Regions from separate parts of the Homo sapiens genome. Here all the other regions are linked to region 1. Evidence: promoter capture Hi-C in 16 types of primary human blood cells and fetal thymus (Javierre and others, 2016). All regions are on one chromosome and are shown on one strand. Each heading gives the region's core, a stretch centred on a gene start or on the middle of the fragment in contact. The rest is flanking DNA. Distances are from core to core; before and after follow the strand shown. Region 1 holds the start of GZMK (granzyme K). Region 2 has its middle 35 kb from the start of ESM1. Region 3 overlaps CDC20B (cell division cycle 20B). Region 4 overlaps CDC20B (cell division cycle 20B).

Evidence for each region. Contacts are between HindIII fragments. The CHiCAGO score rates a contact against its expected background, and 5 or more counts as called.
Region 2: a fragment that was not itself captured here is called in contact with the fragment with the promoter of GZMK in region 1 in 1 of 17 cell types (total CD8 T cells); the score reaches 5.0 in total CD8 T cells.
Region 3: a contact is called between a fragment that was not itself captured here and the fragment with the promoter of GZMK in region 1, in 6 of 17 cell types (total CD8 T cells, activated CD4 T cells, naive CD8 T cells and 3 more). The highest score is 7.6, in total CD8 T cells.
Region 4: a contact is called between a fragment that was not itself captured here and the fragment with the promoter of GZMK in region 1, in 4 of 17 cell types (total CD8 T cells, activated CD4 T cells, naive CD8 T cells and 1 more). The highest score is 7.8, in total CD8 T cells.

The regions. Positions count from the first base shown.
Region 1 is chr5:55,022,851-55,026,170 of GRCh38, forward strand. GZMK (granzyme K) reads left to right here and starts at 1,406. Exons shown (of 5, transcript NM_002104.3): 1 at 1,406-1,536; 2 at 1,810-1,957. The coding sequence starts at 1,473. LOC102467081 (a long non-coding RNA gene) reads right to left here and starts at 1,319. Exons shown (of 3, transcript NR_104662.1): 1 at 1,079-1,319. The HindIII fragment of the contact is 1,874 bases long and covers 1-1,715 here.
Region 2 is chr5:54,948,554-54,951,937 of GRCh38, forward strand. No RefSeq gene overlaps it. Among named protein-coding and RNA genes, the nearest start is that of ESM1, 35 kb to the right of the region's middle. The HindIII fragment of the contact is 1,685 bases long and covers 728-2,412 here.
Region 3 is chr5:55,125,751-55,128,665 of GRCh38, forward strand. It overlaps CDC20B (cell division cycle 20B), which reads right to left. Exons shown (of 12, transcript NM_001170402.1): 7 at 2,671-2,867; 8 at 1,507-1,601. Among named protein-coding and RNA genes, the nearest start is that of GZMA, 25 kb to the left of the region's middle. The HindIII fragment of the contact is 5,522 bases long and covers 1-2,915 here.
Region 4 is chr5:55,143,471-55,146,585 of GRCh38, forward strand. CDC20B (cell division cycle 20B) reads right to left here. Exons shown (of 12, transcript NM_001170402.1): 4 at 43-173. Among named protein-coding and RNA genes, the nearest start is that of GPX8, 15 kb to the right of the region's middle. The HindIII fragment of the contact is 3,795 bases long and covers 1-3,115 here.

The DNA of each region.
Region 1 (3,320 bases), core at 156-2,655:
GCCTCTTGGAACTTATTTCTTCCATTGTAACATAAGTTGTCCTGCTTTCCTCAAAGACATAGACATGAAACCATAAATGATCATATAAAAAGAATTTTGGAAATAAGGTATTTTACTTATATATTATTAAGTTATAATGAATAATACATAATTATAGTATTATTTTTTATTATTCCTACTCTTTGTGCTAGAAAACAATTTGAAAGGAGTCTCTTGCAATCTGCCGAGCATAATAGCTCTGGATTTTAATTCTCCTTTCTAAAATGAATGGAAGATAAAATGCATACCTCTTAAAAGAAAGATCTGTTGATTTAATGCAAATTTTGATCAGTGTTACTAGGAAGTGATTGGCATTCTGATGCGTGATCTGTTTGTATTCATTTTATATTTGCACTGCTGATCAGTGTCTGGCACAAACAGAATCTTGTAGAATCTTGAGTCTAATACCTTTTGTATTGAAGGCCTGGCAATGCATTGTCATCTGTTCCTGGGAAGAATTACAAAATGCAGTCCTTTATTTTTAAAAGACATTATTATTAAGTCCCTGGAAAAACACATGGCCATTTTCAATTAAAAATGAGTAAAAGAGAGACTCTGAATCAAAAATAGTTGCCAATGTTCACCTTTAACAACATTATGAAATCTCACAAAAATGTAACTAAAATTTAACCAAATTTGGGCAAACTTAGAGAAACGACATGAGTAGGGATGTTTGCTGCAAAACATATGGTTTTCTCTGGTTGGTGCTCAGGCTTTAGCTAAGCCACATTGTGAAGTAACCATAATCTGTGCAAGGTCCATGTCTCTCTTCATCATAAATCTATGTCCAAATGAAAAAGAGAGAAGAATGAAATATGATAGGCACCATTTTGTGCCAGGAAAAATAGTAAGTATTGCTTGAGAGCAATGGACATCTTTGAACTCTGTCTGCAACTTCATTACATTCTTATGGCATGGATATTTTTCATTTATAAATATTATATACACATATAGTATAAATTTTCTTTATAGCATAAGTACTCTGATACAGGTATTAGAGATGGTATCTCCAGATATGAGTTCTTTATGGCATACATACCTCTCCCAAAAAAGTGCTAAAAGCAATTAGCCGGATGTGGTGGTGGGCGCCTGTAGTCCCAGCTACTCGGGAGGCTGAGGCAGGAGAATGGCGTGAACCCAGGAGGCAGAGCTTGCAGTGAGCCGAGATCGCGCCACTGCACTCCAGCCTGGGCGACAGAGAGAGACTCCGTCTCAAAACAAAACAAAACAAAAAAGTGCTAAAAGCACAGACCTGAAAGTCCCCAAACTGATACATAACGTTTACACCTAGGTGTGAAAAAAAATCTTACCCCTAGAGCACCTGTGGTGAGAAAGTCAAAACTTACAAGAACAAAACTCAGTCTTCAGAATCTTCTTCCTTCATCACAGGATCAACACATTTCATCTGGGCTTCTTAAATCTAAATCTTTAAAATGACTAAGTTTTCTTCCTTTTCTCTGTTTTTCCTAATAGTTGGGGCTTATATGACTCATGTGTGTAAGTATCTCCTATATCTACATGTAAACATTAAATGAATTTCTACTGACTATATTGTTATATTATAGATGAAAATTATTTTCACAATCATTCCTATCTTTCTGAACTGTAATGTATTATACAAATTTTTCATCAGTAAAATTATTGTAGCTTTTAGGTAGGGTTATTGTTGTTTTTTAAGCTTTGAAAATAATATAGTGACTGTCATTGGAAGAATTACATGAAACAGTAGTTTAGATCTTTTGTGTGAAACCTTTTGGTCTACTTTTGTAGGTTTCAATATGGAAATTATTGGAGGGAAAGAAGTGTCACCTCATTCCAGGCCATTTATGGCCTCCATCCAGTATGGCGGACATCACGTTTGTGGAGGTGTTCTGATTGATCCACAGTGGGTGCTGACAGCAGCCCACTGCCAATATCGGTGAGTCCTCCACACTTTTCCAGACATGTGTTTTTTCTGAAAGTTATTATAGGTACAAGAGAAGCTTACCTCTCCTGAATGAGAATTTGATCTACTGTTAGCTTCTGTGGTTACTGACCAACTGGTGGCGTTTATTTACCTTCTTCCACATCCACGCTTTCTGTCTTGGGTTTTCCTTTTCAGAGAGAACTGAGCTGCTTTTCCCAGGCAAGACATTAGACAAATTCAAGTCCTCTGTATAATGCAGGGAACACAGCAACAGTAATACTTGAAGCAGCAGTACTCTTGACCTTGTTAGATCACACTGCTCAAAAGGAAATCAGACAACCTGAGCTTGCTCTGTGCTCTGAGCTTCCCCATTTTACAAAGGGGTAATAATCATATCATACCTGCTTTGTGGGTTTTGAGAATTAAATAGTATCTGTTTAAGTATTTTAGCATGCTTGGCACATTTAGTAAGCACAAAAAAATTGCAGCTATTATCATTAGTATTATACGCATGAGAAGCCTACTTTGCCACTCCTAACAGTAGCTACCTAACAGTAGCTACTCACCACTTACAACTTTCCTAGGTGGAAAAAAACAAGTTATTGATGACTTCTAGAAAGAGAAAGATAATGAGAGAGTTATTTTCTAGGATACTTAGAATGAAAGCTTTTCTGAAGACAGAGTAAAACCTTCCAAAGTCCATTTCAGCCTAGGATTCTCTTACTTCAGCTAATAAAGCACAAAACCCCTCTTGGGATGCTGCAACCATCACAAAAGGAAATGCCAGTAGAAAACTAATTTGGTATTTGTTGTTTTGTTTGTTTGCTTGGGTTTTTGGTTTTGTTTTTTGTTTGTATATATGTTTCCTTATGTTTCTTACCTAATAAGCTGAAATGGAGCCTTCTCCTTTTCTTTCACTTAAAGATCTCTCTTAGCTGTAATGGTTTGCTCTCCAGGCATTGTCTATATCTAAACAGAACAATTGAATTGATTTGCTTTTCTATGCTTTGGGGGTTTTGTCTGATTACCCCATTTAAATGGAACTGTTTGATCACAAATTGGAAGTTTTGAAGCCTGCAAACTGGGAGATCTTCTGCTATCTCTAAATAGCAAGCCACTGATTTCCAATTTAATATGGTTACTTCATTTACACAGGGTTCTTGCCCTCATAGAAATCACACTCTCATCCCCATCACTTCTCTCTTCTCCAGGGCATTTGCCCCCTCGAGATCAGAGAGACAGAGTGGGGAACTGTCAGCGAATGTTCATTTGATGCAAAATATGCACATCTTCAAATATGCTCATAATACACATTCAAATGGTCTATAACCTCCCCAGACACAGAGCTTGACTTCTAAATGTTCAACAAACTTTG
Region 2 (3,384 bases), core at 320-2,819, 74 kb before region 1:
TCCAATATTAGATTTAGTACCTGGGTGATGAAATAATCCGTCAACAAACCACCATTATATGAGTTTACCTACATAACAAACCTGCACATGTACCCCGGAAACTAAAATAAAAGTTAAAAAAAATAAAAATAACAAGAATTTAAAAGTTGAACTCAAAAGAAAGATCTGCTTGGATGTATATATGTAAATATATGTCTATATAAATGTACATAATAATGGTGTGCTGGATGCAGCTTCTACTGGCTCAAGAAGGCCAAGGTATGTGTCTCTTCCCAGCCCTAAGTCCAGTGGCATACAGGTAGCTGTAATCATCCATGGTAGAATATTTATACCATAGAAATCATCATACAAAACTAGTTGGGGATTTTTCCCCCTGAGAACTGGTTGTTAGACATTTACCAGCACGCACTGAGTGTATATGCACATATGTACACCAGAGAATCTAGGTATGTGTGTGTGTGTGTGTGTGTGTGTATATATATTCATATTCATATATGTATATATACAGATATATGTTTTGATGGCTAAGTAGAGTGAGAACAGATGAAGACTATGAGACTTCATCATCAAGGAAACAATGTGAGCAGTGACAAGGAGAGTGCTGATGTCCAGTGTGTACTTTAGGAACACAGAATCATGTGTTGCAGCCAGGGTGAAAAGTGTGTGAGGAAGAGAGTAGGAGGTAGGTCTGGAAAGACTTCTAGGGGACTGAATGTAAAAGATTTTAAGCTTCACTAAGAATACTGCAAGTACTGGTGGTTCATTAGAGACTTTAGCAGCAGAAATAGCATAATCTGTTGTGCATTTTGTAAAAATGAAGAAGAAATGGAAAGGCTAGAGATGGGAAGCAGTAAAGCCAGTTGGGAAGTGATTTCCATTGTCTGTAACAGAAATGAGAGAATTGAACCATGGCAGTAGCAGCAGGGAAGAAGAAAGGTTGAAAGTTGAGAGTGATTTTAGACTTAGAATCAACAAGATTTGATAATTATTTGATGTGTTGAGGGAGAAAGAGAAGTAAGAAAAAAAGGGATGGAGAATGTGAGAGATGCCTGGCTTGGGAAGTGAGATCAAAAAATTAGATCAGAGCCTGGCACGGTGGCTCACACCTGTAATCCCAGCACTTGGGAGGCCGAGGTGAGTGGATCATTTGAGGTCAGGAGTTCGAGACCAGCCTGGCCAACATGGTGAAACTCTGCCTCTACTAAAAATTAGCCAGGGGTGGTGGCAGGTGCCTGTCGTCCCAGCTACTTGGGAGGCTGAGGCAGGAGAATCACTTGAACCCAGGAGGCGGAGGTTGCAGAGAGCCAAGATCATGCCACTGGACTCCAGCCTGGGTGACCGAGCAAGACTCCATCTCAAAAAAAAAAAAAATTCAGCTTGGATATAAATAATGACTGATATGGATTGCGGTATTTAAACATCCACCCTAGATCACACAATTGTGTAACTCTATTTTCAACACTATATCAGTTAAAAGCAACACCTAAAGTCCATGTACAGAAAGATCTCAAGTAGGAGTTATTCCTCAATTGACAACCTGAAGGGCCGGACAATTGAGTGTTTCCTGTGTGAGGGTTTTGTCAGATGAATGAAGCAAAAAGCCAGAGGTCCAAACAAATTTGAGAAATTGGCAAGAGCTGTTTTGTTTTGTTTTGATGTGATTTTCAAAATTGATGTACCATGAAATCCCAGATGAATAAGGAAGGAAGTGGAGATGTGAAGAGGCCAGTGGATTGGAAACTGAAGGTCCCGATATGGCTTAAGAGTATTCATGATGTGATTAATTGGGCAGATTGAAAGGAGGACAGACTGTAGTCAGACAGCAAATTATCTGAATTTGTGATTTGGAAGGTAACACAGTTATGAGCAATTTTGGTCCAAAGTAGACTGTGGATTTACTGGGTAAAAAGAAGAGAAGGCATTGTAGATAAGACGGTGGTGGCTGTGAGAGGTCCCAGTGTTGGATGGATTGTCCACAAGGTTATAAAGTGACCCAGGGTGACAATTTAACAGGATACCTGTGAGCCAAGAGTCCAAGTCATCAGCAATGGAGGGGAAGACAGCCGGAGGCTGGTAGGTGACCAGTAAGGAGGAAGAAATGGTAGCATAGTTGAATGACAGGAACCTTGAAGGCCCAGGGTTTTTGCTCCCATTTTGCAAGCAGAAGAAGAGTGTTTTCTGGCATCAGATTGCCAAGATCGGAGGTGCCTAGAACCCCTAAATTTCCCAGCCTGTAGAATTTTAAATCAATCTCCGAGATGTCTGCCCTTTCAAAATCACATCTTTGCTTTTTAGGACACTGCTTCTGGTTGTACTGGGTTCACTCAGACATAATATTAGCTCCTTTGCTGAGTTCCACCTAGTAAAACCTCACTCATCCTAGGGGCTTGAGAGCAAGGTAGACTTTGCTGAAGCTTTTGGGTTTGTTTGAAGGTGATGGAAAACACATTTGCAATGGAACAACACAAACAACTGCAAATTAAATCACAACCATCACTGTCTTTGAAATGTTCCCAGCTAACCCACCAGTGAGTGGTTTGAGCTTCATGACTGGTCACATTACCTGAACCCAGCCTTGCTACATCTTGCTGGTTCCTCTCTTCCTCTGCTGTCTCATCTTTCCCACCCTATTCAGTCTACGAAATGGAACATTATTTTAATTGCCTAGATAAACTTGCTAACATCTCCGTTTCTAAAATGCTTAGATCTTGGTGTATAACTGACCTAGGAAGTTCTAGCCTAGAGGTCATTATGTAAGTAGGAACTGTTCACATGAAGAACAGAATGCCGGAAGTAACAGGCTGTATAGACAGCTGGAGAAGCAGCACTGTATCACTAGGCTGAGATCAAATGACCTTCTCTCTTCCCAAGAGAGAGACAAATTCCCTTCCTTCTTCATGCAGAATTCTTCTTCTCTCTTTCGTAAAGCCTTGGTGTCAGTACCTCTAGGCTGTGGGGATCCACTATTTTTTGCTTCTTCCCTAAGGGAAATTCTGCTGTCAGCTATTAAAATAGTAATAATGTGTTTTACACCAGTCCTCCTCTTTACTGTCTCTTACCACTTTTTCATCCAAGTCAGGTTTGCATCAGATGTAGTGGGGGAAATCCTCCAGCGCCGGCAATCAGCATGCTCAGGCCATGCCATGGACTAGAGAGAAGCCAAGGTATACTAGAATGGTCACAAGGCCTTTGAAAGCCTGTAGTCATTCTGCCTTTTTAAGTGAAAAAGGCTACAAATGGCAATTATCTGCCGAAGTTGCTATAATGTTTACGACTGCCACTGAGTGAAACCAAGCTAGCTGCTTTTGCCACAGCTGATTTGACCAGAGGCTTATGCTCAATGAAAGGCAAGTGTGAATGGGCTACAGGTAAGAGGCAAGCCAG
Region 3 (2,915 bases), core at 342-2,841, 100 kb after region 1:
CAAAGTCCAGTGTCGCATTGTTTAAAACTATGCAATGCTGAACAGCATTGTGATTAACAATATGGGCTCTGGAGCCAGACCAGCTGGGTTATTCCAACTCCATCACTTACTAACCATGTGACTTCAGGCTAGTGTCTTAGTTTAATTTGAAAAAACAAAATTGAGGATAAGAGACCACCTTATCATGTTACTGCAGTGATTAAAATGAAATTACACACATAAAAAGTATAGCACAGTGCCTGGCACAGAGTAGTCTGAAAATGTTAGCTGCTATTATTATAAGAAAGGATCTGCTCATTTTCCTCGTGGATAATGAAACTAAATTTTAACAATGCAGATTAGAAAAGGAGCTTGAGTACATAATTGACTGCAATAACTAAGTTGTTTTAAGACCGGCCAAAAACACAAGATATTCAAGTCTCAAGTTTACATCAGATTACTTAAATACATTTTAAAAGTCTTTGGGATGGCCAGGCGCGGTGGCTCACACCTGTAATCCCAGCACTTTGGCAGGCCGAGGCAGGTGGATCACAAGGTCAGGAGTTCAAGACCATCCTGGCCACCATAGTGAAACCCCATCTCTACTAAAAATACAAAAATTACCCAGGCATGGTGGTGGGCGCCTGTAGTCCCAGCTACTCGGGAGGTGGAGGTTGCAGTGAGCTGAGATCACGCCACTGAACTCCAGCCTAGGTGACAGAGTGAGATTCCATGTCAAAAAAAAAAAAAAAAAAAAACAGTCTTTGGGATTTATCTAACTTAAGTCTACCTTAACCTTAAGAACTACAATATGAAAATGAATGGCTATGATTAAAAGCAATATATATTTAGACCAGTTATGTAGGCTCATAGGAAAAAGTCCCTTAATTTTTCTGGTTAAAAAGAAGCAGTTAAACTAAATCACTAGTTCTCAAAGGGATGTATCATCAGCATCACTTGGGAAATGAGAAATGCCAATTATCAGCCCCTCAAGACCTAATGAATCTGAAGTCCCTCAAGTGAAGCCAGCAATCTGCATTTTGAGGAGCTCTCCAGGTGATTCTGATACATGTTCTAGTTTGAGAACTACTGAACAGGATAATCTATGAGGTTCCTTCTGCTCTAATTTCTGTGGGTCTATGAATTGGAAATGTGTCCCAGAGAGCTTAACATATTCCATAGTATAGATACTGACAGCAATAAATACTTGATTTCAGCAAAATATCCCTTTAGTACCTATTACTTAGCACAGAGAAACCTTTTGCTTGAAGGGATTTTCACATTTTATCTGAACAATTTAGTGCATCCCATGCAGAAGGCACACATGATACATGTGGCCACCAAGACACTTACATGACCAGCAGATCTGAATACCTGAGAGGGTGGGATCATACCTGATATTAAGTCCAATGGCCTATTTTGTTTTATTTTTGATTGGTTTAGGTTTTGAATATTACAACTGTTTACTCAGGCCCCATAATCAATTGTTAATACAAACATAACTGTCTCCAACAAGACGCTTCTTACCTGCTGAGGATAAAGTGATTCCAGCTCAGAGCCCCAACTACTGACAAATGACCAAGCATATTTCTCAGCCGCTTTTTAGTTACCACATCCCATAACTGAAAAAATGAACAAGGAGAGTTATGTAGCATTGGAGTTTTCACAGCCCACTGTCTTCTCAAAGGCCTGAGAGCCAATTACTGCTGATATTGTTAGTTTTTGTACTAAGTGAAAACCCAGCACATCTAGCCAGCAGTTCTCAATTCTGACTGTGTATTAGGATCAGCTGGGGAGTCTATAACACTATGGATGCTGATTTAGTTGGTAGAGTAGAGCCTGGGGATATATGGCAGTTGTTTTAAAGCTCCCCAGGTGAATTCAATGTGCAGCCAAGGGTTGAGAATTATTACCACATTTCTAGCTCCTTCTAAATTGTGAGAATTCCAAATCTGGAAATCTACCCACAGTTACCAACAAATGTATTAATAAGATGTGGGTACCCGGACACTTCCTAGAATCAGTAATTCCACTTACTGCTAAGAGACTCCCTTCCTGCGAGCTACAGATAATATTCTGATCCACATGGGGAATGACAACTTTGGTGTAAGAAGAAATCATGACATAGACTTCACAGCATTCATTATCATTGCAGAGATGAGAAAGCAGTGAGAGAGCCATCTGTGGCCCTCCTAAGTCATTTGCACATGAGTGATATTGTTTATTCTATTGGTAATAAACAATAATAATGATACATGAGAAATCAGATAGATTGATGGAAATTTGATAAATCCCCATCTCAAGGAGCCTATCAGAAAAAAAAATTCACTCATTTTCTATAACTGTACTCTTAATCACGGCTTCAGGTGAAAAGGAGAACTGAAAGTATCTTCCTCTCTCCAAAGCTCCAAAACTGGAGATTCTACAAGCCCAACTTTAGTTTCAGAGAAAATATATTTTTAAATATGACAGAAAGATTGTGGTGGAAACTAACCAGAGTATCCTTACGTTTTCATTAAAAACCATTCAGTAAAAAAAAAAAAAAAAAAGCGGAATGTCATCTCCTTTTATTCCCCATACTTCAAGAGCCACACCTAGTTTCTCTATTTTACATTAACTTGTTATTAAAAGTCAATTATAGTGTAATAATACACAGAGAACATGATGAGAAAAAAAAAAACTGGCCAGTACTTGCACTTCTCCCTCGCTGGTGCCAACTGCCAGGCAAGTTCCCTCTTTTATCCAGGACACAGAAGAGATATAGTTACAAGTGAGACTTAAGTCTATGTTTTCAATCCCATTGTGGTTCTCCCCATTCCAGATGTATACAGCAGAGCCCAGGGCTATGGCAACAAGATTCTGAAAACTCCAATCTAGGATATTCAGATCTATAAGAAAAGCACTTCAAATTAGTATAATTATACAGCCACATGAAA
Region 4 (3,115 bases), core at 59-2,558, 120 kb after region 1:
TTCTCTAGATGTGGGATCTTCAGTTTTTTTCTCTTTACCTACCTGCCCTTTTGAGGCAACACTTTCTTTCCAGTCTCTGTCCATTGCATGAGGTGCCTTGCAAAAATGGAGAGCAGAGTTACTTGTTTCAGAAATTCCTTTGCTGGGGGTCTTCAGTTGTTCTTTGCGGGATCCTACAAGAAAGACATTTATCTTTGAATTTGGTTTTTAAAACAAGATAATCACTTTGATTGTAGGTCTGGCTGTGGCATCTTTCACAGAAGGACAGAGTGAAAAAGCCCAGGCTCTCGTCACTCCAAAGTCCATTGCAGAGAGCAGGACAGAGTGAAAAAGCCCAGGCTCTCGTCGCTCCAAAGTCCATTGCAGAGAGCAGTACAGAATCCTATCCAGACTGCTGACTTCATAAGGTTGTCACTCAATGAGAAAGCTGTCTCAGTGGCCTCTAGAGCAGGGAAGAGGTGCCAAGATTAAAGACCTGACTTCATTTGCTGCAGCAGCAGTGTGAATGCTTTATCTCTGTATGGAAAAAAAAAAAAAAAAACCAGATTTGCACATTTGAAGAATGGATAGAAACAGTTCCATAGTTTTAAATGATAGTGGAAAGAGTATCTGGTTTGCCCGAGCTATGGTCATCCTGCAAGGAAAACATTATGGGATGCTTGCTTTGCCAGCATTGACATTCACTACATAATCATGAGCAAATCACTTTGCCTCTCTCCCCCTTTCTATTGCAGAAAGATGTTTTAAAGATAGTTTAAGATGGCATCAGTGAAATACTTTCTAAGTTAAAGTAATAGAAGGGTCAATGTTACTTGCATCAATATTATTCCTATCTACTCTCTTCTCAAGATTGAGAAAGCCCTTTACCAGACTTTCAACTGCCCTGGAAACCTGTCAAGTCATTCTCTAAAACTAAATATCTGCCATATCACTTGTTCATCACAGGAGCCAAGGGACCATTGGAAAATCTTAGCCTTTTGCCATGTGACAATCTCTTCTTCATTTGGACAACCATGAGCTTGATAAATTCTCACTAATGTTCCTAGAGCCTAGTACCTTAAGTACTGGGACATTCAAAATTTAAGCAATATATATTACATTTAGGGAGAAGAAGGATAAAAATATGAAATGCTGGTCAAAGTTTTAGATCTTGCTCTTTGTCCTGAGAAATTATGCATGCTTGCTTTCTTGTGCTATTTGTAAAAGTGTACAGGGGAGAAAAAGCCAGCTCTCAGAACTTCAAATGAGAAAGAAAAAGTTGCAGTCAGAGGCTAGTACTGACAATCATCACAGTTATATACAAAGAGGTCAGGTCCATCAGCCTAAGAAAGAAGGGACCTCTCAGGTTCTGTCCACAGAGCATGACTGAAAATGAACCTCTCTGTAAATGTCCCTTTGGAATGGGAGGATCTTCAGTATCTGCTCTTCTAAAACAAAAAGAAAGAAACCCCACTAGCAAAGCACTGAGAAACCAGTAGATCTGATTAATCCCTAGTATTAACTTCAGTAGAAAATAAAATGGTCTTTCTTGTAAAATCCTTTTTGTTAATATCTGATTTCTGAATTTCTCACACAATGTCATACTTTTTTAAAAAATCAATAAATTAATTAAGAACCTAGAAAGTAAAAGGGAGCCCCTAATTTTAGCCAGAAATTCTTCCAAAAACAATCAGCATCAAAACTGTCCCTCAATTGCAATGAGATACAAAAGATTTCTTTCAGAAGATAGTCATAACAATGTTTTTCACAACCCTTTATCTCCTACTGCTTCCCTCCTCGGTTATTAAATACTTTCAGTATTAAAGCCTGTCGTTACATGGGAATTTCATTGATTTGAAAAAAATCTGGGCTCCCTTTCAATCTGCAGAACTGCAATGCATCATCATGTCTGATGTCATTGAAAAGAGTTGGCACTTCTATTAACATTTGTCTTAATAAATACGCTGATAGTCAAAAGAATTATGTTGCCTAGGATTCTCAAAAGAAAGAATGGGAATTACATCAGCTGATGATAGGTGGCAAATTTTGCTTCTGAAGGATGGGAATGAAAATGTCTGTGCCCAAATGAGAATTACATATTTCAGAAAGAGAGTTTGTGTTTCGGGGCTCTGGCAGGTTGATCATGGATCCTGCCCATCACACTGGTGGTTTGGAGCCCACTCCCCCATCTCTGCCCCAACATAGGCATCAGACTGTCTCTCACTCTCCTTTCCTTCCCTCTTCTTCTTCCCTACTACTCTTGGAGGTTCTTCTTTCTTCTTTCTTCCTCCTCCTCCTCCTCTGTCTCCTCCTCTCTTCTCTCTTTCTCTTTGTCTCTCTCCCCCCATCCATCCCCTCATCCCTCTCTCTTGCTTCCTTCCTCTTACTTTCTCTTCCTCTCATTCTCTCCTGCTTCTGTCTTTTTCTTCCATTTCACATCTGATTATTCCATTACTAACGCATAATTTTTTCTGACTCTGTATACCAGTAACCTTACCAGTCATTAAAATTCTATACTTTGCAAAACAAAAGCACATATATATGTGTGTATGTGTACATATACATATATACATATACATTCATACAATCTTTACAAAAGTAATCATCTAACCAATGCAAGTCTCAAAAACATATTAAAATTAAGCTAAATTTTGCCTGAGGATGTAGGATGAGTCCCTACATCTCAAACTGCAACCTAACTTGGGATGTAAACTAACTGAAAGCCTAACTTAGCTGAGTCTCCGCCAATCACAGAAGCTGAGCTTCAGTCAATCACAGGCGGCCAACTAATCAGACCACGTGCAAATAAGGCGAACTGAGCTGTAGCCAATCAGGCCGGCTCCTACGCACTTCCAATTCCTATCCATAAATGCTGCCCGCCCCCACATGGAGTGGCTCTCTGGTTGCCCATTGGCCAACGGTTCTTTGCACAATTAACTTTGTAAAATTTAATTTGTCTAAAGTTTTGTTTTTGTTTTTGTTTTTAAACACATACAGTACCTTTCCTTTGTTTTTGTGTCATTTCTCCCCACCTTGGAAATTTCTTATTCAAAGGGAGAAAAAGAGAAAAGAGTTGACTCAAAGTGACACTCCTTAGTTCTACAAGACAAAGATTCTCTCAGGAATATATCTTTTA